Linked DNA regions of Homo sapiens: all the other regions are linked to region 3. The links are contacts of gene promoters, found by promoter capture Hi-C in blood cells and fetal thymus (Javierre and others, 2016). All regions are on one chromosome and are shown on one strand. The core of a region is centred on a gene start or on the middle of the fragment in contact, and the rest is flanking DNA. Distances in the headings are between cores, read along the strand shown.

Region 1 (3,838 bases), core at 755-3,254, 310 kb after region 3:
CCTCCCGAGTAGCTGGGACTACAGGCGCCCACCACCACGCCCGGCTAATGTTATTTTGTATTTCTTTAGCACTGGCCATTTCTTCCAACAGGAACAATCTACCCCTGATATACCCATGGCTCCCTCTTCTATTCATTCATGTCTTTGAGCCAAAAGTCACTTCAAAGGGTCTTTCTAAATAATTTTCTTTAAATATAGCCCATGTATTACTATAATTTGTCCTGTGTGTGGGAGGTGTGTGGGGGTCGGGGGGTGGGGGTGATATGTAACTCTCTTAAGACTGTAGACTCTATAAGAGCAAGGACTTTGTTTGGTCATCATTATCCCTATCAGCAGTGCATAGAAGACTGGCTGGCACATGATAGACAATTAGGAAACATTTGTGAATAAATCAATTGCTATGAGTACACTCAGCTGAATACATGCTCTCTTACTTTTTACAGATGATGAAACTGAAGCTAAGAGAGTTTAGGTAATTTTTTCAGCCATACAAGCTAGAAGGGGTAAAAATGAGTTTTAAACCAATAAAAGAGAATTATTTGTTGTACCGAATCCAAAACACACATTGCACGCAACACTGAATTCAGTGATGGAAAAGCCTAATAATTCTAATAATTCAATAGGAATGAAAAGGAACATTCACTTGGTGTAGTTAACAGAAGAGGTTAAAGACACGAAATGCAAACAAAAGCAATGTGGGCTTGACCATGAAACATGTGCTTTATTGGGGAGAAGCAAAAGAATAAACACACTTGCTCTCAGGATAGGAACCACCATCTACATCACAGACAGCAAAGCGAGATTAGGCAGTGATCTGGCTGCTCATCTTCCAACAACATATCGGTTTTCAGAACTAAGCCTTTTCTCTGTCAACGCTCAAGCCAGACAGAGGTTAGGGAAGATGCAGCCTCCCACTACAGCTGAAGGGAAGATGATGGAGTCCTGGGAGTAAGAAGAGCCACTGGATCTTGTTGTTTCATGGTCCTGATGAATTCTAGTGATGTTACTTGCTCTTGGGTGGATACTTCTGCTGGCAGGGTGGGTATGGTTGCACAGGAGGGCATTTATCCTGGCATGGTGGAGGTGGGCAATGCTCAGGTGGACAAGGAGGAGGCAGGTAAGGCTCAGGGCACTTCGGGGGTGGACATGGCTCTGGGCACTTTGGCGTGGGGCACACAGGAGGTGGCTGGCAGGGCTGCTTGCACTGCTGCTGCTGGTAAGACATCTCTCCTCAGTCTCAGAGAATCTGAAAGATACATACGAAACAGTGCTCATAAGAGAGACAGTCCTGTTGGTGGAGCAATTAGCTAGGACATCAAATCTCCAGTATCTAGGGACCAACTTTGATCCCTAATACAGTCTTTATGACTTTGTGAACCTTCTTCACACTTCACTTTTAGGACCTCTTACCCTCAGTTCTTCCGTCTTTCTGGCTGTTCTCTCATTCTACCATTTTCTGAAAATAAAATTGCCTATGAGACAGCAACAAATGTTGTCTGAATACAAACACTATCTGAAGAAGAAAAACTCAGATATTAAAAGTCTAGCCAATACCAAACAAATCTGTGCTCTTATCTTCCATGAGGCCCTAGTTACCAGTTTTAATGAGCTGGCTGTGGTGCTGAGCCATGAGTTTTTTAAGAGAATTGCAAAAACTTGCACCCATCACCCAAGGAGATTGCACTCCAAGAGAGATGTATTTGGAACAGATGTGAAGCAGGAGACAGAACAGCATCTTGTGTCTCTCACTCTCCTTCAGTTTAAGATTTTATATATTTGACTCCAGGTTCCTCATCACCTTCATGTTTATCTACCAAATACCAGCTAAAATTTACCTTCAAGACCTCATTATCTTCTTTTTCCTATCCATGAGGATAAATTGGTTAAAATAAACAGGCATTTCTGTACCCAGGTTAGACCCTAACACCATCCAAGTGCAAGAAAAGCTTCTAATATTTGTACTCACCAGAGTCTTCAAAGATCTACAACTGAATGGCAAGAAGATAGCATCAGTGTGGTGGAGAGTCCTTTTATAAGGGGCAGGCAGCCCTACACAGGGAACAGCCCAGGACTAGCATGATGTGCTTATTTCCCAACCAAAATACCACTTGCATGTAATCCATGCTGGTATCACAAAATTCCTAGTCCATGATCCTCCCCAGCAGGATAAGTGCACAGTGATTCACTTGGGACATTATCTCAGGTTCCTCATGCCAGTGGCAATTGTAGAACGTGACAAATTGTCTGACAATTGTGGTGCTTCCCTATAATTAGAGATGGTGCTTCTCCTACTTCCCAGCTTCCAAAGTATCCTGTATGTAAAACTACTCCCATTCAGTTGCACATGCCCAGTATCTAGCTGTGTTCTCTTTAGTAGAGACCAGTATGTGCTGATCCTGCAGCCTGGCTATATCCTAACCCTCAACTGCAGTTTTTCTTTACAACTAACTTCCCCTTTTATCATGGCCTATTGATCCTTAGGCTTTTCTTGACAATTAATTGACTTGAACAGGGTGACAAAATCATATATCAGCTTCCTAGATGCTGACAGCCCCAACCTGGGTGTGTTCTGACATGGTATTAATGGGCTTGAACAAGGCAACATCATCTCTCAGTTTTCTAGGCCATTAGAGTCATGTTGGGGCCCCTTCTTAAAGCTTCACATTTGCAGATTTACACACTAACCTCATCTCTGTGGCCCTTGTAACTATGAGTGACTTGTGGTCTACTAGAAATCCAAACTCATCTTCTCCCATTTTCTTCCAAACTGCCTTAATGTATGTGCTGCATCCATTTTGAAGCTTTTCTCCTACATGCTAATTCAATTTACTCCTTCACAATTTCTCTCTTTTGAAATGACATTTAGTAGGATTTCAGGCTTTCTTTGCACATTCGAGGAGTGAAGTTCTGTAAAGCTATTTATCCTGCTGTTTACTTCATGGATGTTTTTACCTAAATAAGTAAAGTATAGCTGGCACAGATCCCACGGATAATTTCTTAGTATAGCTTATTTAACCATATTAACACTTCAGCTAGTATTACTCACTGTCCCAACTTGGAAAAAACTTGAGTACCTTGGTTATGCATACATCTACAGCCACCACTACTGTGTGGAACTAAATATTTCCTAACCTCCTTGAAACACAGTTTACACAGCTGTAAAACAGAAATAAAAAATACACCTACCACAAAAGTCTCCTACAAAAACTCAAAGAGTGGCCTAAAATTATGCACATTACATAGTGGGTCTTCTAAGAAATATAAACTCTAAAATGTAGAAGAAATAAGAATAATAACTAATCATAACTAACCAATAATTTCAAACATGTCAAAAACAGATAATAAAGAATGGCATTGTTTAGAGTGAGGCCTATCTAGTGAAGATCCTTTCCCTGCATCCCCCATTCTTCTAGCTGTAGTCACTACTAATTAGACGGCATGGGTACCATAGCACCTACAGGGTCGGCACCTTGTTTTCCTGAGAAAGCCCCTCTCAGGGAAGATTTTTGCCTTGTGCTCTTTACCCAGAAGAATGCTGTGTTGTATCTGCAATGTTTCAAACTTGATTGGGTTGGTACAGTAGAGAAACAAAAAAAACTGAGGACCTAACATGGGAATTTGAAGAGGTAGGAACGTCTTTGAGTTGAGCCCTACTATTAAATTCTTTCTCAGCATCTCAGAGGAACAACATGAGGCTAGTTATCCCTCCCTAGTACTCTGAAACTAAACAATTTAGTCATCTAAGTTACTATCAGGAAACTGACACACTTCAGGGATGCCAGAAGGAACAGGGATGCTCCTGGGATGGGTGAGGCACTTTCACAGCGTTCTTTCTCAT
Region 2 (4,280 bases), core at 803-3,302, 340 kb after region 3:
AAAAGCCAGCTGGGATTTTTATTAGGATTGCAAGGAATAAATAGATCAATTTAAGAGGACTGATACATTCAAAATAGTGTGTTATCCAATATGTGAACCTATATCTCTTCATTTATTTGGATCCTGTCTAGTTTTTCTCCAGATTGTTTTATTATTTTCAGTGTAGCAGACTTACAAATTTTTGTTAAATATATTACTAACATTTTATCTTTTATGCTGTCATAAAGTTATTTCTAAATTTTATTTCCAATTGTGTGGTGATGGTTTATAGAAATATAATTGATTTCTATATATTGACCTTGTATTCTGTGGCCTTGATAAAGTTCCATATTAGTTCCAATACATATTTCTATAAGTTTCTTAGGAATTTCTGCATGGGCAATTATGCCATTTGTGAGTAAAGACATTTGTGCTTCTTCTTTCCAATCCATGCTTGTACTTATTTTTCTTACCTTATTGCACTGGCTGGAACTTCCAGGAAATGTTAGAATAGAAGTAGTAAATTGGGATATACTTGCCTTGTTTCTGATATTAGGGGAAAAATATTTCACAATTAATATAATGTTAGCCAAGGCTTTTCATAGATGACCTTCATCGCATAGAGAAAATTTCTTTCTATTCCTAGTTTGCAAGAGTTTTATCCTCAATGCATGTTGAATTTTGTCAAATGCTTTCTCTACATCTATTCAGATGATATAATTTCTTCCTTTATTCAGTTAATTTGGTGAATTACATTTATAATATTAAATAAACCTTGCATTCTGTGACAAATCCTCTTAATATATTGCTAGACTCAATTTACTGATATTTTCTTAAGGATTTTTGCTTCTATGCTCCTGAGGAATAACGATCTGTAACTTTCTTTTCATTTAATGTCCTTGTCAAGTTTCAATATCAGGGCTACGTTAACCTGAAAAAGACTTGGTGAATATTCCCTCTTTCTCTGTTTTATGAAAGAAATTATGTATGATTGAAATTTTTATTTCTTAAGTGTGTGGTATAATTCACCAGTTAATCCTTTTGGACCTGGGGCATTCTATATGGGAAGGTTTTAAACTATGGGTTTTATTTCTGTAATAATTTTAGAGATTGTCTCAGTCAGGGTACAATGAGAGGAACAGAACCAGTTGGAAATGTACTTCAGAGATTTACTACAAGGACTCAATTTATGTGATTGCAAAGGCAGCTAGGCAAGTCTAAAATCCAGAAGTCAGGACATCAAGAGGGTAAGCTGGAACTCTGTCATAGGCTGAAGCTGTAATCCACACATATAATTTCTTCAGGGAAGATTTAGCTTGGCTTTTAAAGCCTTTCAACTGATTGAATCAGACCAGCCTGTATAAACTAGGATTTTCTCCCTTACTTAGAGTCAATTCATAATGGACTTTAATCACATCTACCTTCACAGCAACACCTAGATTAGTATTTGATTGAGTAACTAGGGACTGTCATGCAGCCAAGCTGACACGTCAAAAGACCATCACAGGGCTGTCAAGTTTTCATTTATGTGTTAGTTTTTTATTTTCAAGGAATTTGTGCTTTTCATCTAAGTTGTAGAATTCAATATGAAGTTGTTTATAATATCCACTCATTTTAAATATAACAATGTCACGCCTATCATTTGTGAAATGGTTTCATTTTTAAATATACAATATCATCGTGTGTGTGAAGGTACTCATGCCACAAACTAAATAAGGATAATAATGTTTGAAATAATGATAGTAGTCATAATAATAATTTTTAAGACCTAGGATTCATCTCTTATTCCTCTTTTCCTCACCTCCCACATACTACTTCTTCCTAGATCCCAAGTTCTGCCTTAAGCTTATTATCACTTCTCATCTTCTCATTATCTTCAATGTTCTTACCCTAATTAGAGCCACCATCACCCTCACCTGAACCACTGCAGAAGTTTCCTATCTTGTGTCCTGATTTCTATCTTGTCTCCGTATTCCTATCTTGTGCCACAGCAATCCCATATCAGAACAACCACAGCAATCATATAAAATATAGAGAAGATTATGTCCTCCCTAATTGAAATGATCAAATATCTTGCCATTGTATCTAGAGAAAAGTCTGAAGACCTTACTGTCCTACAAAGCACTTCATGCTGTGGCACTGACTCTTATGCTGACTTCATCATATCTTTCTTTCCTTGTTCACTAAGTTGCAGGAATATTGGCATTCTGGTGGCTTCCTTCCCTTTAAAGTAACCTTTTAACTGACTAAAATTGAAGTATAAATTAATAAAAGCTCACCAAGTACAGGTATACAACTTAATAAAGCTTCATAAGCTAAACAACCATGCAACCAATGCACAAATGAAGAAATAACATGTTACCAGCATCTCAGAAGCAGTCCACCTGGGAAGCAGGTTCTCAAAAGCAGTCCGAGTCACTACCAGCCCCCAAACATTAACTTTTTCCTGGCATCTAACACTGTACATTTGTTCTTCATGTTCTGAACTGTATATAAAGGGAATCATACAGTATGAACTCTTTGGTGCCTGGATTTTTTTTCCCCAAAATTGTGTTTGTGATACTGATTCATTTTCTGGTTTGTAGATATAGATCGTTGATTCTCATTGCTGTATGGTATTTCTCTATGAGAATATACTACCATTTATGCATCCATTTTATTGCTAAAAGGTATTTTAGTAGTTTCCAATTTGGAATTTTTAAAAATAGTGCTAATGTGAATATTTACGTATTTGTCCTTTTGTGACTATATGTACACACTTCTGTTAGGTACATACCTAGGAAAATATAATGACTGGGTCAGAGGATAGGGATATGCTCAGCTCTAGTGAATACTGTTAACTTTTCCAAATTCTTTCTACCATCTATTATTCCCATCAGCAGTGTGTGAAAGTTTCAATTGCTCCACACTCTGTCTAAACTTGGTATTGTCTATCTTTTTTCGTGTTAGCCATTTCGGTGGCTATGTGGAGATAACACGTTGTGACTTGAATTTGCATTTCTCTTATGAATGGTGAGATTAAACTCTTTATTATATGTTTATTGGAAATACAGAAATGCCCTTTCATGAATTGCCTGTTCAGGTTGTTCAGATATTTTTCTATTTGCTCATTTCTTGTTTTTTTGTTGATCTGTGAGTAGGAACACATGTGTATATATGTTCTGGGAACAAGCCCTTTGTTAAATATAGATATTACATACAGCTTCTCCATCTCTGTGGCTTGGCATTTTGCAATCTTGGTGGTGTTTTTGATAATCAGAAATTTTTAATTTTAATGAAATCCAATTTGTCATTTTTCCACCTTATTGGTATGCTTTTTATTACCTGATTAAGGAATCTTTCCTATTGACAAGATCTGAAGACATTCTCCCAGAGTTTAGAATTTTGTTTGTTTGTTTTTGGTTGTGTAATATATTTTTATTTTCTATGGGTACATAATATACATATTTATGGGGTACATGTGACATTTTGCTACACACATAGAATGTATAATGATCAAGTCACAGTATTTAGAATATCCATCACCGTGAGCATTTATCGTTTATCTGTGGTGAGTACATTTCAGTTCCTCACTTCCAGATATTTTGAAAGATACAACACATTCTCATTAACTATAGTCAGCTCACTCTAATATCAGTCATTAGAACTTGTTTATTCTATTTAACTATATGTTTGTACCCATTAACCAACCTCTCTTTATCCCCCACAACCCCATGCACATACACGCCTTTCCCAGCCTCTGGTAACTATCATTCTATTCTCTACCTTCATGAAATCACCATTTTTAGCTCCCACATATGATGGAACAGGTGATCATTGTCTTTCTGTGTCTGGCATATTCTATTTAACATAATGACCTCCATCCAGTTTCATCCATTTTGCTGCAAATAATATGATTTCCTTATTTTTATGGCTGAGTGGTATTCCATTATATATATATATATAATATTTTCTTTGTGCATTCATCTGTTGATGGACTCTTAGGTTGATTCCATATCTTTGCTATTGTGATAGTGCTGCAGTAAACATTAGGATGTGTATATCCTTTTGATATACTGATTTTCTTTCCTTCAAATAAATACTTAGTAGTGGGATTGCAGGATCACATGGTAGTTCTATTTTTAGTTATTTCAGAAATCTCCATACTGTTACCCATAATGGCTGTATTAATTTGCATACCCACCAATGGTGTATGAGAATTCTCTGCATCCTCTCAAGCATCTGTTATTCTTCATCTTTTTGATCATAGCCATTCTTGCTGGAGTGAGAGGATATCTCACTGTGGTTTTAGTTTGCATTGC
Region 3 (3,860 bases), core at 1,067-3,566:
CCTATTTGCCGATTTTTCACTTACAAGCTTGTGTTACCTATTAATTTGTCTGTATTCCCTCTGGAGAGTGAAAGCTTTGAAACATAATATAGACATCTTATTCTTTCTTGTATCCAGTACATAGTTGGGACTTAATAAATATCAAATCACATAATTATAGACACAATCTGAACCAGGAAGAGAAGTGGAGTGGGATTAGAATAAGAACATTACATTTCTGTGGTCCTGATTTAAAACTGGCTGGACTTTTAAGTTTATCTGGAAGACAGTGCAGCTCAGGGGCCTCAAACAGGCTCACTTAATGAGCTAGGCAAATCTAGATGCTGGACACACTCCATCCTATATGTGATGAAATTCACTGTACTGAAAAGGAGGGGGCTAAGAGATTTCTGTGGGCAATTTATTATGGGAGGTGGTCTGGGAGAGATATAGAAGGGGCAGGAAGTGTAGTTTGCCTAGGGCAGAGCCTCCAGAAAGAACCCTCAGCCCTAGGCAGAGACAGTAAGGGTTGGGTACTTGCTAGTTAACTTCAAAAAAATGCATTTGTGATGTGTGAGGTCTCTGAAGCATGTGTTTAAGTGGTGCAGGTCTTGGGTGGGGAAAAGGAGCAACTGGTGCATTGAGACCAGTGTTACTTTGCCTTCCTGCTAATGCTTAGTGCAAGGGAAGCACTTCTGAGGCACCATCAGAGTTATTTCTGGTGTCTGAGGGAAGAAAAGAGGAGAAAGAGAAGGAGAGAGAAAAGGGAAAAGGAAGTAAAGGAAGATGGGGTCTATCCCTGAGGCTGTCTAAATCAGGCACTCTCTCTCCAGGGCTCTGCTCTAACAGAGTGAGCGAGGTTTCATACCATTCTTCCACCTGCTGTTTCACTCACAAAGATCTTCTCTTCCTCCATCCAAACTGCATCTCAAAGTTTTCCCAGATGAAGCAATTGAAACCTGATGATCCTGCCCTGCTGGATTTTGGGATCCAATAGCTGCTCCTTTTCTGGCCTTGTCCTATTTTCCACCCTGGTCTTCATACCCTCTCCCATACCCCAACCCTACTCACCTTTGTCCTATACATGATTTGAAGGCCTTTGAGGACTGCCCCTACAGTCAGAATGTTCCTTGTAATTGCTCATCTTTTTATTTACCCAACTGTTTCCTGAATACCTACTGTGTGTCAGGCATCAGAAATACAGAGGCAGGTGAGGCACACTCTTGAGCAGCAGGGAGTTTCATCAGTGCCTTTTAACTTAGCTGGGCACACCAGGAGCGATTCTGAGATGGAAGCATCCAGAGGTGAGGGACTGTGTTTAGAGAATGTTCCCAATTTAAGCACTGCCAAAACATGATTATCTCAATTTTCATGAAAGCTAAAGAAGAACTTTTCACTCTGTGGAAGGCTTTTCCACAATGTCCCTTGATAATTCCAAGAACAGCTCCCCTTTTGCATTTAAGAGACAGCAGGTGTGTGAAGGTTTTGCTTCCCACCCTCTGCTCAGCCTATTGTGTAAGGTGAGGTCCACCCACAGAGTTCCCTGTAGTATTTATGAAAGGGTGTTCACAAATGCCTTAGGGGAGAATGATGGAAACAAGAAGTCAAGGTCTCGTCCACAAAACAAAATGAGTTGGGCTTTATTTTATTCCTGTTTTTTTCTCCTGAAACACAAAGTCTTTTCTAATGGCACATAGACTGTTTCATTCAACAAATACTAATGAGTATTTTCTTTGTGTCAGGAACAACATCAGGCTCTAGGAATGCAGAAGTGATAAAGGCACTGTCATCAAATAACAGTTTAATAGGTGAGATAGGATATGTATCTTGGTCACACGACCCAAAGCAATAGTAAAGGCTGTGACATGTATCTATAAAGGTCAGAGGATGAAGGACTCATGTGTGGCTAGAGCAATGGGCCAATCTCCACAGAGGTGATGACACGGAATGGGATGCTGACAGTCATGGATGATGGGTGGGGAGTAGACAAGGAAGGTCTTCCTCAGACCCTGGGTGATGTCGAACCTGATTTTTCCCTCCAATCCTACATAGAATTCAACAGCAGCTGCAACCCGCCCAGCCTCCCAAGGACATCATCCAGATTAGCCAGTGTACCCACTTCTGCGTAGGCCAATCTGAAGGCCCCAGCCTTCTGCTCACTCACGCACCTGCAGATGCCTTTGAACCACATCCCAGCTACATGTAGCTGAGGAATCTAGCACTGGGAATTGTGAAATACCCAGATCAATCATCCACTCCATGGCTCTCCTCCAATGACATGTGGCCTGGAGGCTTCAACTGGAGGATATATAAAAGAGCCTCTTACTTCCTGGCAACACAAGGCCTCCAGACTCCTCCTGGGATAACTTGTCCACACATCTTCCACTAGGGTAAGGCTACTTCTGGCTGAGGAGACACTTGGATGTAGCTCAAGTGCTGCTTAGGCAGTCCTGATCTCTCCTCTCGTCTCTTCCCAGGGAGCTGAAAAGCCAGGTAGGAGATGCTTGGGGTAGAAAGAAGGGAAGAGAAGTGGATCCCTGCAAAAGAAAGACCCCAAATAATCTAACATGGGAGAAAGCCATAGAAGTTAGAGGGCCAGAAAAGCAGAGATGGGACAGTCAGACTTAGGAGTCTGGGGACAGAATAAGACAGAGTAAAGAAAGAGCAGAGACTTGGCTCTCCTTTGCACTTAACCAGGTGGACATTGGGCTGGGAAAAGTAAACTGTCAGCTCAACTAAGTACAATTTGTCTTTTTTTTTTTTTAAGGAAGCATATATCATTAACATGGTTATTAGTAAGTGAGTCCCCTGGGAAGATTTACTCCCAAATATTTAGTCCTTTCAAGTCCGTTTTTCTCCTCCTGAGATGGAGTTCAGTGGGTTGTAAATGCTGGACTTCATTTTTGACAGCTCCAGTTTGTGGAGGAGAGAAACAGAAGCCCAAGCTGCCTGGGTCCCTGATATAACTATTTTTCTTCCAGATTCGACCTGGTAGCCAAGCAATGTCACAGCAGAAGCAGCAATCTTGGAAGCCTCCAAATGTTCCCAAATGCTCCCCTCCCCAAAGATCAAACCCCTGCCTAGCTCCCTACTCGACTCCTTGTGGTGCTCCCCATTCAGAAGGTTGTCATTCCAGTTCCCAAAGGCCTGAGGTTCAGAAGCCTAGGAGGGCTCGTCAAAAGCTGCGCTGCCTAAGTAGGGGCACAACCTACCACTGCAAAGAGGAAGAGTGTGAAGGCGACTGAGCCCAGAAGAGTTGAGGCACAGGTGCAGTTACTCTCTCCCTGCCCCACCTTTGGGTACTAATTCCCCCTTGGAAAGCCAGGCCCTCAACCTCTCATTTGGACTGAGAAACACTTCCTGATCCCCAGCTCTAGAGAAGCGAGAACTAGGCTGAGCCACGCTGCTACTGCTCTCTTCCATTCACCCCTTCAGCTCAGCAACAATAAAGCTGCTTTACTTGGAGCCCTGACTTCTGTGAGTTCTTGAGACCCCTGCTCAGATGTACTGAGACCCCCGCTTCAACCCAAGTGCATGGTGCTTCTCCTCCTTCCTCTTAAGACAGCTGATAGTATTTTTAAGAAGCAGATGTTCTGGGATTTATGTCCCAGTTTCCAGCAGCCTCACAGCCATCAACCCATGTCATTGCATGATTCTAGCACCAAAGACTACAATAAACATATGTTGAGCACCTACTGTGTACTGGCCTCTGTGTTTACAGATGTAAGTGGGAAATTTGTCCCTGCTCTAGAAAGCTTATAATCCAGTAGGAGATGCAATGGACACTTCAGATAGAAACAAGTGGATTAGTAAATATCATTTTAAGCTGATTAATTTACTCATTTTTATCTCTCATTTGTGTTCAAAAGAACTTAAAGCAG
Region 4 (3,676 bases), core at 634-3,133, 420 kb after region 3:
AGAGAAAATAGACTGAGGAAAAAAAAAAAACAGAGCCTCAATAAACTGTGGGACAACAAAAGTGTTAGCATTCGTGTCATCAGAGTCCCAGAAGGAGAGGAGAAAGGGTGTGATCCTGAAAAATTGTAGAAATAATGGCTCAGAATTACCCAAATTTGGTGAAAGTAATTAACCTACAAATTCAAGAAGATGAGTGAAACTCAAACAGGATAATCCCAAAGAAATCCACAATAAGAAATACCATAATCAAACATCTGAAAGCTAAAGACAAAGAAAAAATCTTGAAGAAGAAAATTTTGAAAGCAAATCTTGAAAGTAGAGAAAACTGACATATCATCTATAGGGGAACTATTATTTGAATGACAGCAGATTTCTTGTCAGAAACCAAGAAGGCCAGGAAAAAGTGTCACCACATCTTTCAAGTGCTAAAGAAGAAGAATTCTGTCAACCTAGAATTCCGTATCCAGTGAAAATGTCCTTCAGAGATGAAGGTAAAACAAAGATAGTTTCATATGAAAGAAAAATACGAAAACGTGATGCCAGCATACCCATCCTAAAAATGTGGCTAATGGAAGTTTTTCAAACAAAAAAGAAATGATAGAAACCAACGTGGAACATCAGGAATAAAGGAAGAACAGTGTGAAGTCTAAAACTATAGGACAGTATCTTTTTCCTCCTGAGTTTTTTAAAATTATGTTTGATAGTTGAAGCAATAACCATAACATTGATATGGCTATTAACATATGTATAGAAAATGTTTAAGACAGTTATATCAGAAATCAAGAAGTAAAGGGACTTAAATGGAAGTAAGGTCTGCAAATTCACTTAATAAAATGTCCGTACCAATAGATGATGATAAATTATGCATATACAATGCAATACCCACAGCAGCCACTAAAAAATCTGTATACATACAAACAGATCCACTCAAAAACACTATAGATAAATCAGAATAAAATTTTTCTAATGAGTGTACATTTTTATTATAGTATAGCATACATATATACAAGGGCACAAATTATAAGTGACAGCTCAGTTAACTTTTACCAAGTGAACTCATCCCAATAACTGAACCTCAGAAGCTTTCTTTATTCCCTTCCCAGTCATTAGCTCCCTTGAAGATACCATTAGATTAATTATGCTAGGTTTTGAAGGTTATATAAATATAACCTTACATGTGTCATTTTTAGAATTTATTTTTAATTAAAAGATAAAAATTATATATATTTTTGTGTAAAACGTGTTTTAAAATGTATACATTGTGGAATGGCTAAATGGAACTAATTAACATATGAATTACCTCACGCACTTATAATTTTTTATGGTGAGAACACCTAAAATCTACTCTCTCAGCAATTTTCAAGAATACAATTCATTGTCTTTAACCATAATCACTACATTGTAAAATAGGTTTCTTGAACTTATTCTGCCTATCTAACTGAAATTTTGTGTCCTTTGACCAGCATCTCCCCAGTGCTTCCCTTCCCCACCTCCAGCTCCTGGTAACCACCATTCTACTCTCTTTTCCTATGAGTTCAACTTTTTTAGATTCCATATCCAAGTGAGATCATGTGGTATTTGTCTTTCCATACCTGGCTTATTTCCCTTAACATAATATCCTCCAGCTGCATTTGTGTTGTCCCAAATAACAGGATTTTCTTCTTTTTAAGGTATTTTCTTTACTCATTCATCTCTTCATATACACTAGGTTGCTCACATATATTGGCTATTCTGAATAGTGCTTCAGTGAACATTAAGAGTGCAGATACCTCCTCAACATACTGATTTATTTTCTTTGGATATATACCCAGTAATAGGATACCTGGACCATATGGTACTTGTATTTCTAACTTTTTGAGGAATGTCTATAGTGTTTTCCATATGCTATGCTGTGTTAATGTATACTCTCATCAACAATGTGCAGGGATTCCCTTTTTTCCACATCCTCTCCAACACTTGTTGTGTCTCATCATTTTTTGATAACTGTTCTAATAGGTGTGAGGTTGCTATGGTTTGAATATGTCCCCTCCAAAATTCTGGTGTTGAAACTTAATGGCAAATGTGATAGTACTAAGTGGTAGGGACTCTAAGAAGTGATTAGGCCATGAGGGCTCCTCCCTGGAATGGGATTAAGGCACTTATAAAAAGGCTTTCCACAGCATTCTCCACACTTACCCTTCCACCTTCCACCATTTTACCTCTCCAGAGAATACAGCAACAGAAACTATCTTAGAAGCAGGGAGCAGCCCTCACCAAATAATCAAACCTGTTGGTGCTTTGATCTTGGCCTCAAAACTACGATAAATAAATTCCCAGCCTCAAAAACTATGAGAAATAAATTTGTGTTCTTGATAAATTAGTCAGTTTCAGGTATTTTGTTATAACAGCACAAATGAACTAAGACAGAGCTGATGTGTCATTGTTACTTAAATTTGCATTTCTCTGATGATTAATGATTTTGAACATTTTTGTATACCCGTTGATCATTTGTATGTCTTCTTTTGAGAAATTTATATTCAAATCCTTTGCCCATTTTTTAATTGGGTTTTTTTAATTACTATTGGGTTGTTTGAATTCCTTATACATTTTGGATATTAACCACTTACCAGATGTATGGTTTGAAAATATTTTCTCCATTCTTTAGGTTGTCTCTTCACTCTGTTGATTGTTGCCTTGGCTCTACAGAAGCTTTTTTGTTTGATATAAGCCCATTTGTCTATTTTGCTTTTGTTGTCTGTGCTTTGGGGTTCAACATCCAAAAAATCATTGCCTAGACCAGTGTCATGAAGCTTTTCTTCTGTTTTCTTCCAGTAGTTTTACAGTTTCATGCCTTACATTTAAGTCTTTCATCAATTTTGAGTTGATTTTTGCATATGATGTAAGATAGGGGTCTAATTTCCTTCTTCCACATGTGGATATCCAGCTGTGCCAACAATTATAGAAGAGACTGTCCTTTCCCCATTGCACGTTCTCAGCATATTTGTCAAAAACTGATTGACTGTAAATGTGTGGATTTATTCTCTTTCCTTAATCTATGTGTTTTTTCAATTTTGATGCCTTTTATTTCTTTCTCTTGTATAATTGCACTGGCCAAGACATCTAGTACTATGTTGAATAGAAGTGGCAAAAGTGAGCATCCTTGTCAGAGGCAAAGCTGGTAACTTTTCGCCATTGAGTGTAATGTTAGCTGTGGGTTTGTCATCAATAACCTTTATTGTGCTGAGGTACATTCCTTCTATATCTGATCTTCTGAGAGTTTTTATCAGAAAATATGTTGAATTTCATCAAATGTTTTTTCTACATCTATTGGGAGTGATTCATATGGTTTTTGTCCTTCATTCTGTTCATGTGGTGCATCACATTTATAGATTTGCATTTTTAAACCACCCTTTCATTCACAAAACAAGTCCCACTTCATCATAGTGAATGATCCTTTCAATGTGCTTTTTTTTTTTTTTTTTTTTTTTGAGATGGAATCTCACTCCGTTGCCCAGGCTGGAGTGCAGTGGTGTGATCTTGACTCACTGCAACCTCCACCTCCCTGGTTCAAGCAATTCCCCTGCCTCAGCCTCCCTAGTAGCTGGGATTACAGGTGCACGCCACCACACCCTGCAATTTTTTTTTTTTTTTTTTTTTTTTTTTTTTTTTTTTTGTATTTTTAATAGAGACAGGGTTT
Region 5 (4,074 bases), core at 592-3,091, 380 kb after region 3:
GAAGTGGTATCGTGGGGGCCACCACCCCTATTCGACAGCAGATCTGGACTTGTCCACTCCTGCTCTCCTTCTCTCCTACGGACACCTGCCTCACATCTGAAAATGGTTGAAAGAAAATAAGTGGCCAGCTGGCAGGGCCTTCTCAACTCAACCTCCCTCATCACCCGGTTCCCAAGCCAGCCTCATAACCTGTCTTTCCTCCTTTAGAAGCCGCTGGGGACCGTTTCTCTTCTCTTCCCAACAGCACCACCTGCTGGCCATAGAGGCACTTGGCCTTCTACTAATCACACCCAGTCTGGCCTGAGTTGGAGATGGCCGCACACACTCCGGCCGTCAGTGCTCCATGTGGAGAAGACAAGAGTACAGAGATGCAGCATCTAACAGAGTCAGAGGAAGGCTATATGTGCAAGACAGAGTTACACTATTTATAGGGTGGGAGCAACACGAATAATGGTTCAGGACATAGGCTCAGGAATCAGACTTCTGGAATTCAAATCTAGACTCCACCACTTCTATTGTTCCCTTAAAACAAATTTCTCCTATGTGAGAGTAAGTGACACAGAATCTCCTATGAGCCAAGCACTGGAGTTACAGCAGCGAACCAGATACACAGAATCCCTGCCTCCCAGAGCTCACATGAGAAGGAAGACAGACAAAAAGCAACTCAGCAAATGCATAAATAAGAAAGTGAAAATGAAGAAAATGAAACAAAGTGGTGAGGAGAGACCAGAGAAGAGGGGTGCTCTTTAGCTCGGGTAGCGTGGAAAGGCCGATCTGAGATGGGGATGTCGGAGTAGCGACATGAACAATAGGAGGAGCCATCCATGTGGGATCGGGGTAAGTATCAGCGCAAAGAGAACAGCAGGTACAGGGAGTACTGCAGGTCAGACTGCCCCTGGAGCCTTAACTCGGATGCTGCATTTGAAGGTAGACCCTGGCCAACTTTTAGTTCATCCAAATTAATGTGAGAAAAAGAGCGAGGTCTCTGGGCACCTTGTCACATGAGCTGTGGCTGAAGGAAGGGGGCGTTTCATCCAGAGATGAGGAGACTTAGAGACACACAGTGGCTGTCTTCAGGCCTGTCAAATGTCAAAGAGAGAGGCAGTGGATATATTCTTTGTGATCCCAAGGAGAATAGCATGGATCAGTGAGTTCTGGGCACAGAAAAGCAGATTCTGCTCATATCAGGAATAAAATGGCCCAGCAAATGAAATGAGCTGCTCATGAAGTAGTGATCCCACCATCCATGAAATATGCAAGCAGAGACCAAATAAGTAGCTGAGATTATAGGAAGTGTGGATGCAATGCTTTTAATCTTTAATTATCACCTACTCTTGCACTTGAATTGCTTATAGGTTACCACAAGATTTTGCTTCTCTCTGAATACAGTAAAATAGCCTTTGTCAGCCAGTCCCTGAAGGGATGTCCGCCCCAGGGTTGGGGAACATCACAGCAAGGCAGGAGAAAACTGGCTGTTGGGTACAGAACACGCTTCTTGTCAAACCCGGAGCAGACTCTGGCAAAGATGAAAAGCGGAGGTCCTCACCTCCCTTTCATATGCTCCCCTTTTCTGTCCCAGCACCAGAAGATGGAACTTCCTTTTCCTTACAATGGTCTAAGAAAAAACTAGTCTAAGCAATTAGAGAAAATATCCTACAATTCCCAAGTCCTAAAAGTTTTTATGTTGCACATCCTGGTAATAAAAATATTTCAGCCTCACCAATAAACATATAAAAACGGTGTTCAACCTCTCATTATTCATCAGAGAAATGCAAATGAAAACCTCAAAGAGATACCACAACACACCGACTGGAGGGGATAAAAGTAAGAAGACAGAATCACAGTGTGGGTGAGGTTGTGGGAGTGCAAATTGGTACAACCACTTTGGAAAACTCTTTGACGGTCATGACTAAAGTAGAATGTATACACAGCCAATGACTGAACAATTCCTCTCCTAGGCATCTGCCCCGCATACGGTCACCAAAACTCAAACATTAGAATGTTCATTCTAGCTCTCATCAGGCATCCTTGTGAAAGTGGCATCACCTTTAAACCCTGCATGGCAACCCCTGACACACTGCCAGGCTGCCCAGGGAATACAGGGCAACCTGGAAGTCCAACTACTTCCTTCAGATCATCCAATTTTTCAATCATTATCTGAAATGTTTCATTGTAGAAGCAGCAATGTGGGCTCCAAGTAGATGCAGCAGATCCACATGTCCCTCTGAGGGAAAGCCATGGTGCCAATGGGCAAGAACACCATGATGTGCAAGGCCATCCAAGGGCACCTGGAAAACAACCCAGCTCTGGAAAAACTGTTGCCTCATATCCAGGGAAATGTGGGCTTTGCGTTCACCAAGGAAGACCTCACTAAGTTCAGGGACATGCTGCTGAATAGTAAGGTGCCAGCTGCCACCCATGCTGGTGCCATTGCCCCATGTGAAGTCACTGTCCCAGGCCAGAACACCGGTCTGGAGCCTAAGAAGACCTCCTTTTTCCAGGCTTTAAGCATCACCACTGAAATCCTGAGTGATGTGCAGCTGATCAAGACTGGTGACAAAGTGGGAGCCAGTGAAGCCACACTGCTGAACATGCTGAATGAACATCTCTCCCTTCTCCTTTGGGATGATTATCCAGCAGCTGTTTGACAGTAGCAGTATCTACAACCCTGAAGTGCTTGACATCACATAGGAAACTGCATTCTCACCTCCTGGAGGGTGTCCGCAATGTTGCCAGTGTTTGCCTGCAGATTGGTTACCCAACTGTTGCATCAGTACCTCATTCTACCATCAATGGGTACAAGCAAGTCCTGGCTTTGTCTGTGGAAACTGATTGCACCTTCCCACTTGCTGAAAAGGTCAAGGCCTTCTTGGCCGATCCATCTGCCTTTGTGGCTGCTGCCCCTGGGGCCACTGCCACCACTGCTGCTCCTGCTGCAGCTCCAGCCAAGGCTGAAGCCAAGAAGAGTTGGAGGAGTTGGATGAGAATATGGGATTTGGCCTATTTGACTAATCACCAAAAGGCAACCAACTCAGCCAGCTTTATTTGCAAAACAAAGAAATGAAGGCTTACTTCTTTCAAAAAAAAATGTTTATTCTAGTGTTATTCATAATATCCAAGTATCAGAAAGAATACAAATACCCATCAATGAATAAATAAACGGTGGTATATTCAGACAATGGAATTCCATACAGCAATGTATACAAATGATCTACAGCTACACACAGCAATAAGGATGAATCTCACAAACATAAAGTAAGTGGCCAAAAAAAAGACACATAAAAAAGCATTAGGATGAAACATATGAAATTGCCATTTATGGAGGTCAAAAACTGTTCATAGGGTTCAACATAAAACACGCTGTATAGTTCCATTTATATCATTTATGTACAGTACAAAAGCTGGCCAAATAAATCTCTGTTGTAGACAGTAAGAACGTGGTTGTGTGTGTGTTGGTTGTAGTAGCGTGGTCATTGGATGGGAGAAGAAGGAAGGTTTCTGTGTTGCTGGTAACATTCTATTTTTTTATCTGGGGGCTGCTTATCTGGTTGTGTTCAGTTTGTGAAAATTCATTGAGGTGGACATTTACAATATATGCACTTTTCTGAATGCATATTTTAATAAAGAGTTGAAAGTTCTATTGGGGTTCATCATATAATACATACATATTATTTAGAAGCAATAGATATGTACTGTCATTCTAACATCATGAAAGTTAAAAGACAAACACAAAATACAGACAATTTTAAAAGAAAAGATAAAAATACATAAAGAAAAAATTCAAATTTTTTCTTTCTGCTCCCAATGAATAGTTTTATGCACCCTCAGTGAACAATCAGCTCTTCTGGAGATTTTTTATAATGAAGTCCTGGATTACGTAAATGCTGCATGATCTTTGGCAAATCTCCCAGCCTCAGTTTCTGCATCTGTAAAATTGCACTGATGATCACCCACCCATCCTAGATGGCTGTCCTCAGGATCGAATGAGGTATTTGTGGAAGTATTTAGTAATTTGTAAAATGTGAAGGGTTAATATGATTATTACTATTAGCAGATAGTTACTATTAACATAGA
Region 6 (3,881 bases), core at 775-3,274, 440 kb after region 3:
ATGTGGTCAATTTGGAATAGGTGTGGTGTGGTGCTGAAAAGAATGTATATTCTGTTGATTTGGGGTGGAGAGTTCTGTAGATGTCTATTAGGTCCACTTGGTGCAGAGCTGAGTTCAGTTCCTGGATATCCTTGTTAACTTTCTGTCCCGTTGGTTTGTCTAATGTTGACAGTGGGGTGTTTAAGTCTCCCATTATTGTTGTGTGGGAGTCTAAGTCTCTTTGTAGGTCTCTAAGGACTTGCTTTATGAATCTGGGTGCTCCTGTATTGGGTGCATGTATATTTAGGATAGTTAGCTCTTCTTGTTGAATTGATCCCTTTATCATTATGTAATGGCCTTCTTTGTCTCTTTTGATCTTTGTTGGTTTAAAGTCTGTTCTATCAGAGACTAGGATTGCAACCCCTGCCTTTTTTTGTTTTCCATTTGCTTGGTAGAGCTTCCTCTGTCCCTTTATTTTGAGCCTATCTGTGCAGAGACAAGATTCAAACCAGAAGCAGCATGCTCTCCCCGCAGCGCTTCCTGTTGGCTTGGATTTTCTCTGTCAAGGAAAGCTTAGTATAATCTGCAAGCTTAGATTTTGTAACACAACTGCAATGATCAATCAAATTAAGAAAAAACTTATCTGACTTGTCACCCCCTTGATGGGACTCAACTACCCCCAAGACAACATTTTTTTTTTTTTTTTTGAGACATTGTCTCGCTCTGTCGCCCAGGCTGGAGTGCAGTGGGGCAAACTCAGCTCACAGCAACCTCTGCCTCCCGGATTCAAGTGATTCTCCTGTCTCAGCCTCCCAAGTAGCTGGGACTACAGGCGCATGCCACCAGGCCCAGCTAATTTTTTTATATTTTTGGTAGAGACAGGGTTTCACCATATTGGTCAGGCTGATCTCAAACTCCTGACCTCAGGTGATCCACCCACCTCGGCCTCCAAAAGTGCTGGGATTACAGGCGGAAGCCACCATGCCTGGCCCCAGGAAAAAATTTTAATGAAAACATTGAAATTCTGCCAGTCTAGGGCTGACCTCTCAGAAATGTCCCTTTTTACACTTCTCTTTGCAGAAGAGCTTTTATTTCTGTACTTAGAACAAACCCCTGCAAATAAGAAAACAGTTTTCCCCAGTGCGATACAGAATGCTGTCAAAATGTGTTTCAAAGTCCCAACAAGTCACATTTGCATATTTACTCCTTCAGAATGCTCAGATAAATGAAGCAGGCTGGCTTTTTTTCACAGAAACCCTTTTGCTCTCCACAGCCATGCCAATCACCAATCACACGTCTCAGCTATGGGACTGTCTAGATCAGCCATGCCCAATAAGAGTATAATGTGAGCCACCAATGACAGCCTCAGAAACACAGAGGTACAGATTGGAAAGGAAGAAATAGAACTGCCTCTGTTCACAAATTATAGGATTGTCTATGAAGAAAATCCCAAAGAACTGATCAAAACAATACCTGGAACTAATAAGTACAACAAACAAAAGTCAATTGCTCTCCTATATACCAGTAATGAACAGTTGAAATGTGAAAATTCGAATAATACAATTTACAATAGTACCAAAAACAATAAAATACTTAGGTACAAATCTAACTAAAGGCTGGGTGTGGTGGCTCACACCTATAATCCCAGCACTTTGGGATGTCAAGGCTGGAGGATCGCTTGAGCCCAGGAGTTTCAGATCAGCCTGGGCAACATAGTGAGACCCCACCTCTACAAAAAAAAAGTAAATAAATAAATAAAAATTGAACTAAAGAGGTACAGGATTTATATGCAGAAAACTACAAAAGTCTGATGAAATAAAGAAAATCTAAATAAATGGAGAGATATATTCTGTGTTCAGAGATTAGAAGACACAGTACTGTTAAGATGTCAACTCACCCAAATTAACCTATAGATTTAACGCAATCCCAATCAAAATCCTAGCAAGGTATTTTACAGATCTTGACAGAATGATACTAAAATTTATATGGAAAGGCAAAAGACCTAGAATAACACAGTACTGCAGGAGACAAACAAAGTTCGAAGACTCACATCACCTGATTTCAAGACTTACTATAAAGCTATAATAATAAATACTGTGTGGTATTGGTGAAAGAATAGACATATATATCAATGGAGAGCCCACTGGGCCTTAGTGAACTTACCTTTAACAAAGGAACAAGGAAAAGGAGTCATTTTAAGAAATTGTGCTAAAATCATTGGGTGACCTATTTGAAAAAACTGAACCTAGACATAGACTTTACGCCTTTCACAAAAATGAACACAAATGATCATAGACGTAAATGTAAAATGTAAAACTATACAGCGTCTAGAAGAAAACATAGGAGGAAATCTAGGTAACCTTGGGTATGATAATGAGTTCTGAAATACAACACCAAAAGCACAATTCATGAAAGAAAAGTTAATAAATTGGACTTCATTAAAATTAATAACTTCTGCTCTGTACGTGGTAACGTTAAGAGAATGAAGAGACAAGCCATAGACTGGGAAAAATATTTGTAAAACACAATCTAATAAAGCACTTATATCCAAAATATGCAAAGATCTTTTAACACTCAACAATAAAAAAACAAACAACTTAATTACGAAACAGACAAAACATTTAAGCAGACATCTCACCAAATAAGAAATGCAGATGGCAAATAAACATATGAAAAGATGCTAAATATAATTTGTCATTAGGGAATTGCAAATTAAAATAACAATGAGATATTATTATACATCTATGAGAATGGTCAGGATCCAGAAAGCTGATAATACCAAATGCTGCTAAGGATGCGGAGCAACAGGAACTATCATTTGTTACTAGTGAATACAAAATGGTATAGCTCTTTGGGGAGATAGTTTGGAAGTTTTTTACAAAGTTAAACCTAGTCTTAGCACATGATCCAGTAATCATACTTCTAAGAATCTACCCAACTGATTTGAGAACTTAGGTCCACAAAAATGTGCAAGCAAATATTTATAACATTTGTGCCATTGACTAAAGGTGGTGCCATTTTCATCACATCATATCAAAGGGTACACACTATCACCATGACATCACTATTGGGTTGACCTTGATCATCTGGCAATGTAGCATTAGTCAGGTTTCTCCACTGTAAAGTTACTTTTATTCCCCCTTTGCACATGGCACTCTTTGGACGGAAGTCACATGTGCAATCCATACTTAAGGAGTGGGGAGTTACGTTCTACTTTCTTCAGGACAGAGGATCTACATAAATTATTTGCAATACTTTTTTCTCTTCTCTTCCATTTATTTATTTATTCAATTATTTGTTTATGTTGGTATGGAGTCATGGATGTTTATTTTATGCTCTAGGTTATAATCCAATACTAATTCATTTATGTTCTTGTTCAAATTGTTTGATTTTAGCTGTTAAGAACTCTTTCAGTTGGCTCTCATATTTTTTTATTTACCCCACCATTTTACTATTACTATTTTTGAGTAGTGCCTTACTTACTGGTACTATAAGAGGTTCCAAGCTTATATTGTATATTTCTTCCCAATCCTAGAGTCAGCCATTTCTCCAAGAAGCTTTGGTTTATTTCTTAGAGAATGGTACTAGAAACCAAGATCTGGCTACTAGGTGTGCTCATTGCTATCTCTGCACTCTTTCTCCCAAAATCCCATAACCCCATTCTCATCATGAGAAAAATTAGACAAATCCCAATTGAGGGACATTTTACAAAATGCCTGACCAGTAATCCTCAACATTGTCAAAGTCATCAAAAACAAAGGATGTCCCAGAAGCTGTCACAGCCAGGAGGAGCCTAAGAAGACATGATGACAAAATACCTGGTGACATCACTCAGGGAAAGCAAATGGAGAGGATCCTCATGATGGGGGAGGGAAAGGAGCCCTTAAGGAAAACAATGAAAA
Region 7 (4,070 bases), core at 458-2,957, 400 kb after region 3:
CAAGGAAGCATATATAAAAAAAAATGCTTGAAGCTTTGTTTGTAATAATGAAAATCAGAACAACCTACATGCCCATCGATTTAGGAGTGGCCAAATAAACTGTGGCAGATCCAACCTATAAATTACTAAAGAATTGTGATAAGGAATAATGTTGCTTTATGCCTGTCAACAGCGTGAGCAAGGCAGGGTTCTAAGTTCTTACCTAAATTTACTCATCTAATCCTCACAAGACCCTGTGGCTATAGGTATACCACAATCCCAATTTATAAAGCAGAGAAACTGCGGCTGGAGGGTTTAAATAATTTGTATCATGCAACTAGCAAGTGACAAAGCTATGATCTGAGTCCAGGCAGTGTGGCCCCAGGCTCCATCCTCTTACCCTTCATGCTAATTTATTGCTGAGTGGGGAAAAAAGCAAGCAGCAGAAAGACACACAAAATATATAATACTATTCAGGTAAAATATACACACAACACAGTACCATGTTGTTTCTAAATATGTACATAAAGGTGAGAAAATGATCTATTTTAACAATCAAACCAATTTACAACATTGGTTGCCCATGTGAAGGTGCTAAAGGAACAAGGATTGGCAGTGATGACCAGGAATAATTTCATCTTGACATATAACGTCTTAAATTTTAAAACAAAATGTGTTCCAGTATTATAGAATGACTTAAAATTTATAAAATAAAAATAGTCAGAAGGAATCACCTACTTCAGGATTAAATGAGTTCCCTAACATAAAAAGCATTAGCTTAGATTTCTACTCTTGAGGAACTCTTCAGGGAGGGATTCAAGCATCAGTGAGGGATTGGACAGGAAAACCACCCCAGCTGGTTGGTTACCAGAGAAACTCAACATGCTCCCAATTAAACTCAGTATCTTTTACCCTCAAACTTCTTAATCCTCTGGTCTCTCCTAGTTCCATAAGACATTGCTTACATTTACCCAGTGTAATTATAATTCTGTATAAGTTCTGTTTTTCTAACTCTAACTTCTTTATTCACATAAAATAACTTTCACTATTCTTCTGAAAGCCTTTAATAATGTGAAGATGGCTATTTATCCCTGTCTTCTCTCCTCCTACTTCCACTTCTACCACCATCACCGCCACCACCACCGCCTCTGCCACCTCCACTACCATCATTTCCACCACCACCATCACCACCACCACCACCATCATCCTAGTTGTGGTGGTGCTGATAAGAACTAGTGGTAATGGTGATGATAGTGGCTGTAGCAGTGGTGGTGATGATGAGAATGAATCAAGGTAGCAATGTGATAGATTGGTGCTGGTGATGGTGGTGGTGATGGTGGTGGTGGTGGTAATGGTGGTGGTAATGGTGGTGTAGGTGGTGGAGGTGGTGGTGGTGGTGGTGGTGATGGTGGTAGAAGTGGTGGTGGTGAAGGTGGTGGATGTTGGTGGTGGTGATAATTGTAGTGGAGGTGGTACAGGTGTTGGTGGTGGTGGTGATGGTAGTAGAAGTGGTGGTGGTGAAGGTGGTGGATGATGGTGGTGGTGGTGATAATGGTGGTGGAGGTGGTAGAGGTGTTGGTGGTGGTGGTGATGGTAGTAGAAGTGGTGGTGGTGAAGGTGGTGGATGATGGTGGTGGTGGTGATAATGGTGGTGGAGGTGGTAGAGGTGTTGGTGGTGGTGGTGATGGTAGTAGAAGTGGTGGTGGTGAAGGTGGTGGATGATGGTGGTGGTGGTGATAATGGTGGTGGAGGTGGTAGAGGTGTTGGTGGTGGTGGTGATGGTAGTAGAAGTGGTGGTGGTGAAGGTGGTGGATGATGGTGGTGGTGGTGATAATTGTAGTGGAGGTGGTAGAGGTGTTGGTGGTGGTGGTGATGGTGGTAGAAGTGGTGGTGGTGAAGGTGGTGGATGATGGTGGTGGTGGTGATAATTGTAGTGGAGGTGGTAGAGGTGTTGGTGGTGGTGGTGATGGTGGTAGAAGTGGTGGTGGTGAAGGTGGTGGATGATGGTGGTGGTGGTGATAATTGTAGTGGAGGTGGTAGAGGTGTTGGTGGTGGTGGTGATGGTGGTAGAAGTGGTGGTGGTGAAGGTGGTGGATGATGGTGGTGGTGGTGATAATGGTGGTGGAGGTGGTAGAGGTGTTGGTGGTGGTGGTGATGGTGGTAGAAGTGGTGGTGGTGAAGGTGGTAGATGATGGTGGTGGTGGTGATAATGGTGGTGGAGGTGGTAGAGGTGTTGGTGGTGGTGGTGATGGTGGTAGAAATGGAGGTGGTGGAGGTAGTGGTGATGCAGGTAATAGAGGTGGTAGTGGTGATGATGGAGGCAGTGGAGGTGATGGCAGTGGTAGTGCTGGTAGTACATGTTGGTGAAGGTGGTGAAAGGTGAGGATAGTGGTGGTGGTGGGTGGTGGTGGGTGATGGTGGTGGAGGTGGGTGATGGTGGTGGTAGTGGAGGTGATGGTGGTGGAGGTGGGGGTCGTGGTGGTGGAGGTTATGAAGGTAGAGGTGGTGGTAGTGGTGGTGGTGGAGGTGGTGGGGTAGCTGTGGGTGATAGTGGAAGTTATGATCATGGTGATGGGTGATGGTGGTAGTGGTAGAGATGGTGGCAGTGGTGGTGTTGGTGGTACCTGATGGTGGTGGTGGTAGAGGTGAGGCTAGTGGTGGTGGAGGTGGGCGATGGTGGTGGTAGTGAAGGTGATGGTGGTGCAGGTGGTGGAGGTGGTGGTGATGGTGGGTGATAGTGGTGTTGGTGAAGGTGGTGGTGGGTGACGGTGGTAAAGGTGGTAGTATTAATGACAATCAGAATGAGTGCCAGTGCCATGACAGTAGTCGTGGTGATGGTGATGATGACACTGGTAGTGGTGATGGTGGTGGAGGTCACAAAGGAATAAGAAAACAATCTATTTTAAAGAAAAACAAACCACTGTGCCTACAACACAGCGCAGCACGTTGACATGGCAGTGATGACAATGGTAGTGATGGTGCAAAAGGTAGTGGATGTGATAGTGGTGGTAGCAATGGAGATGGGGGAGGTGGTGAAAGTGGCAGCGACGGTGGGAATAAGTGAAGATCAAAGTGGCAGTCCTTGTGATTGTGATGGCGATGGCGATACTGGTGAAGGTGATGAAGTTGGTGCAGCTGGTGGAGGTGGTGGTGGTGATGGTGGTAAGAGTGAGCAGAGGCAACAGTGTTAGTGGTGGGGATGGTGGTGACGATTACGGGGCAGATGATAACAATAAAGTGTTAGGCATTTGGCACAGAACTGAAAGTAATGGCAAGATAGACATGGTGACCATGGTGATGATGAAAACAGGTTGGTGATGATGAAAACAGAGGTGTTTAGTTCAAGCAGGTGAAAAGACAAAAGCAGCTCTAGATCTAGGTCTGATACCTGGATACTGAGACCAAAGCTTCTTCCCCATTTTTGCTGCCGCCATTTGTCAGAAAAAGTGGAGAAAAGTTACATGGAAAGTAGACTAAGATGAGGACAGTAAATAGAATGTCACTACCCAAGCTATGGGGCCTATAGGACCTCATGTGCTCCTTCCCAGCCACAGCAGCTTTTTCTAGATCTCAGCCCTCCATGTCTACTCCATTTGGGGTTTGCCATGATGACAATTTCCTGTGTGCATCGGAAAGCAAGAAAAGTGGAAAGAGAGTAAGACAAGTGCACCAAGGCAGTATCCTGGAGTCTCTCTTCGCCCACCCTGGATAAGCCGTGGCCAGACCTGTCAGAGCTGGCCCTACTAATTGCTACTTCCATGTCGGGAGGTCACCAAGTGGGAGTGTGAGGCTGCATTCCAGTGGTGGTAGAAGGCCCCACCAGCCACACCTGCCCAACACTCCCACAGACACTGAGCCTGCTGAAGTACACTTGGCCTGTTCTACCATGGACAGCAAGGTGAGCAATTAGGCCCAGGAATCAGAAAACAATCTATTTTAAAGAAAAACAAATCACTGTGCCTACAGCAGCCTGTCCAAACACAGTAATCACAATAACCATGGCATCCCTGAAAGCCAGTGGCATTTCTGAAACTCATTCCAGCAAACACAATAAACAATTTGGAGTTGAACCAGGCTAATTCCATCTCTGT

What was found. The method cuts DNA at HindIII sites, captures the fragments that hold promoters and counts their contacts. A CHiCAGO score of 5 or more calls a contact.
Region 1: the fragment with the promoter of SPRR2G here is called in contact with the fragment with the promoter of LCE6A in region 3 in 5 of 17 cell types (M1 macrophages, M0 macrophages, M2 macrophages and 2 more); the score reaches 9.3 in M1 macrophages.
Region 2: a contact is called between a fragment that was not itself captured here and the fragment with the promoter of LCE6A in region 3, in 4 of 17 cell types (M2 macrophages, erythroblasts, M0 macrophages and 1 more). The highest score is 7.5, in M2 macrophages.
Region 4: a contact is called between a fragment that was not itself captured here and the fragment with the promoter of LCE6A in region 3, in 4 of 17 cell types (M2 macrophages, megakaryocytes, M0 macrophages and 1 more). The highest score is 8.5, in M2 macrophages.
Region 5: a contact is called between a fragment that was not itself captured here and the fragment with the promoter of LCE6A in region 3, in 5 of 17 cell types (M0 macrophages, M2 macrophages, M1 macrophages and 2 more). The highest score is 9.1, in M0 macrophages.
Region 6: a contact is called between a fragment that was not itself captured here and the fragment with the promoter of LCE6A in region 3, in 1 of 17 cell types (M2 macrophages). The highest score is 6.6, in M2 macrophages.
Region 7: a fragment that was not itself captured here is called in contact with the fragment with the promoter of LCE6A in region 3 in 4 of 17 cell types (M2 macrophages, M0 macrophages, endothelial precursors and 1 more); the score reaches 6.8 in M2 macrophages.

The regions. Positions count from the first base shown.
Region 1 is chr1:153,148,886-153,152,723 of GRCh38, forward strand. SPRR2G (small proline rich protein 2G) reads right to left here and starts at 2,005. Exons shown (of 2, transcript NM_001014291.4): 1 at 1,967-2,005; 2 at 697-1,246. The coding sequence starts at 1,225. The coding sequence ends at 1,004. The HindIII fragment of the contact is 711 bases long and covers 1,945-2,655 here.
Region 2 is chr1:153,177,875-153,182,154 of GRCh38, forward strand. The region is part of intron 2 of LOC101928009 (a long non-coding RNA gene); the gene reads left to right. It also overlaps a transcript of SPRR2G not described here. Among named protein-coding and RNA genes, the nearest start is that of LELP1, 23 kb to the right of the region's middle. The HindIII fragment of the contact is 461 bases long and covers 1,823-2,283 here.
Region 3 is chr1:152,840,540-152,844,399 of GRCh38, forward strand. It overlaps LCE6A (late cornified envelope 6A), which reads left to right and starts at 2,317. Exons shown (of 2, transcript NM_001128600.2): 1 at 2,317-2,472; 2 at 2,961-3,444. The coding sequence starts at 2,982. The coding sequence ends at 3,224. The HindIII fragment of the contact is 3,660 bases long and covers 73-3,732 here.
Region 4 is chr1:153,264,751-153,268,426 of GRCh38, forward strand. No RefSeq gene overlaps it. Among named protein-coding and RNA genes, the nearest start is that of LORICRIN, 6.9 kb to the left of the region's middle. The HindIII fragment of the contact is 1,606 bases long and covers 1,081-2,686 here.
Region 5 is chr1:153,222,995-153,227,068 of GRCh38, forward strand. It overlaps the pseudogene RPLP0P4. Among named protein-coding and RNA genes, the nearest start is that of PRR9, 7.4 kb to the left of the region's middle. The HindIII fragment of the contact is 8,208 bases long and covers 1-4,074 here.
Region 6 is chr1:153,282,389-153,286,269 of GRCh38, forward strand. No RefSeq gene overlaps it. Among named protein-coding and RNA genes, the nearest start is that of LORICRIN, 25 kb to the left of the region's middle. The HindIII fragment of the contact is 2,915 bases long and covers 568-3,482 here.
Region 7 is chr1:153,241,957-153,246,026 of GRCh38, forward strand. No RefSeq gene overlaps it. Among named protein-coding and RNA genes, the nearest start is that of LORICRIN, 16 kb to the right of the region's middle. The HindIII fragment of the contact is 3,353 bases long and covers 32-3,384 here.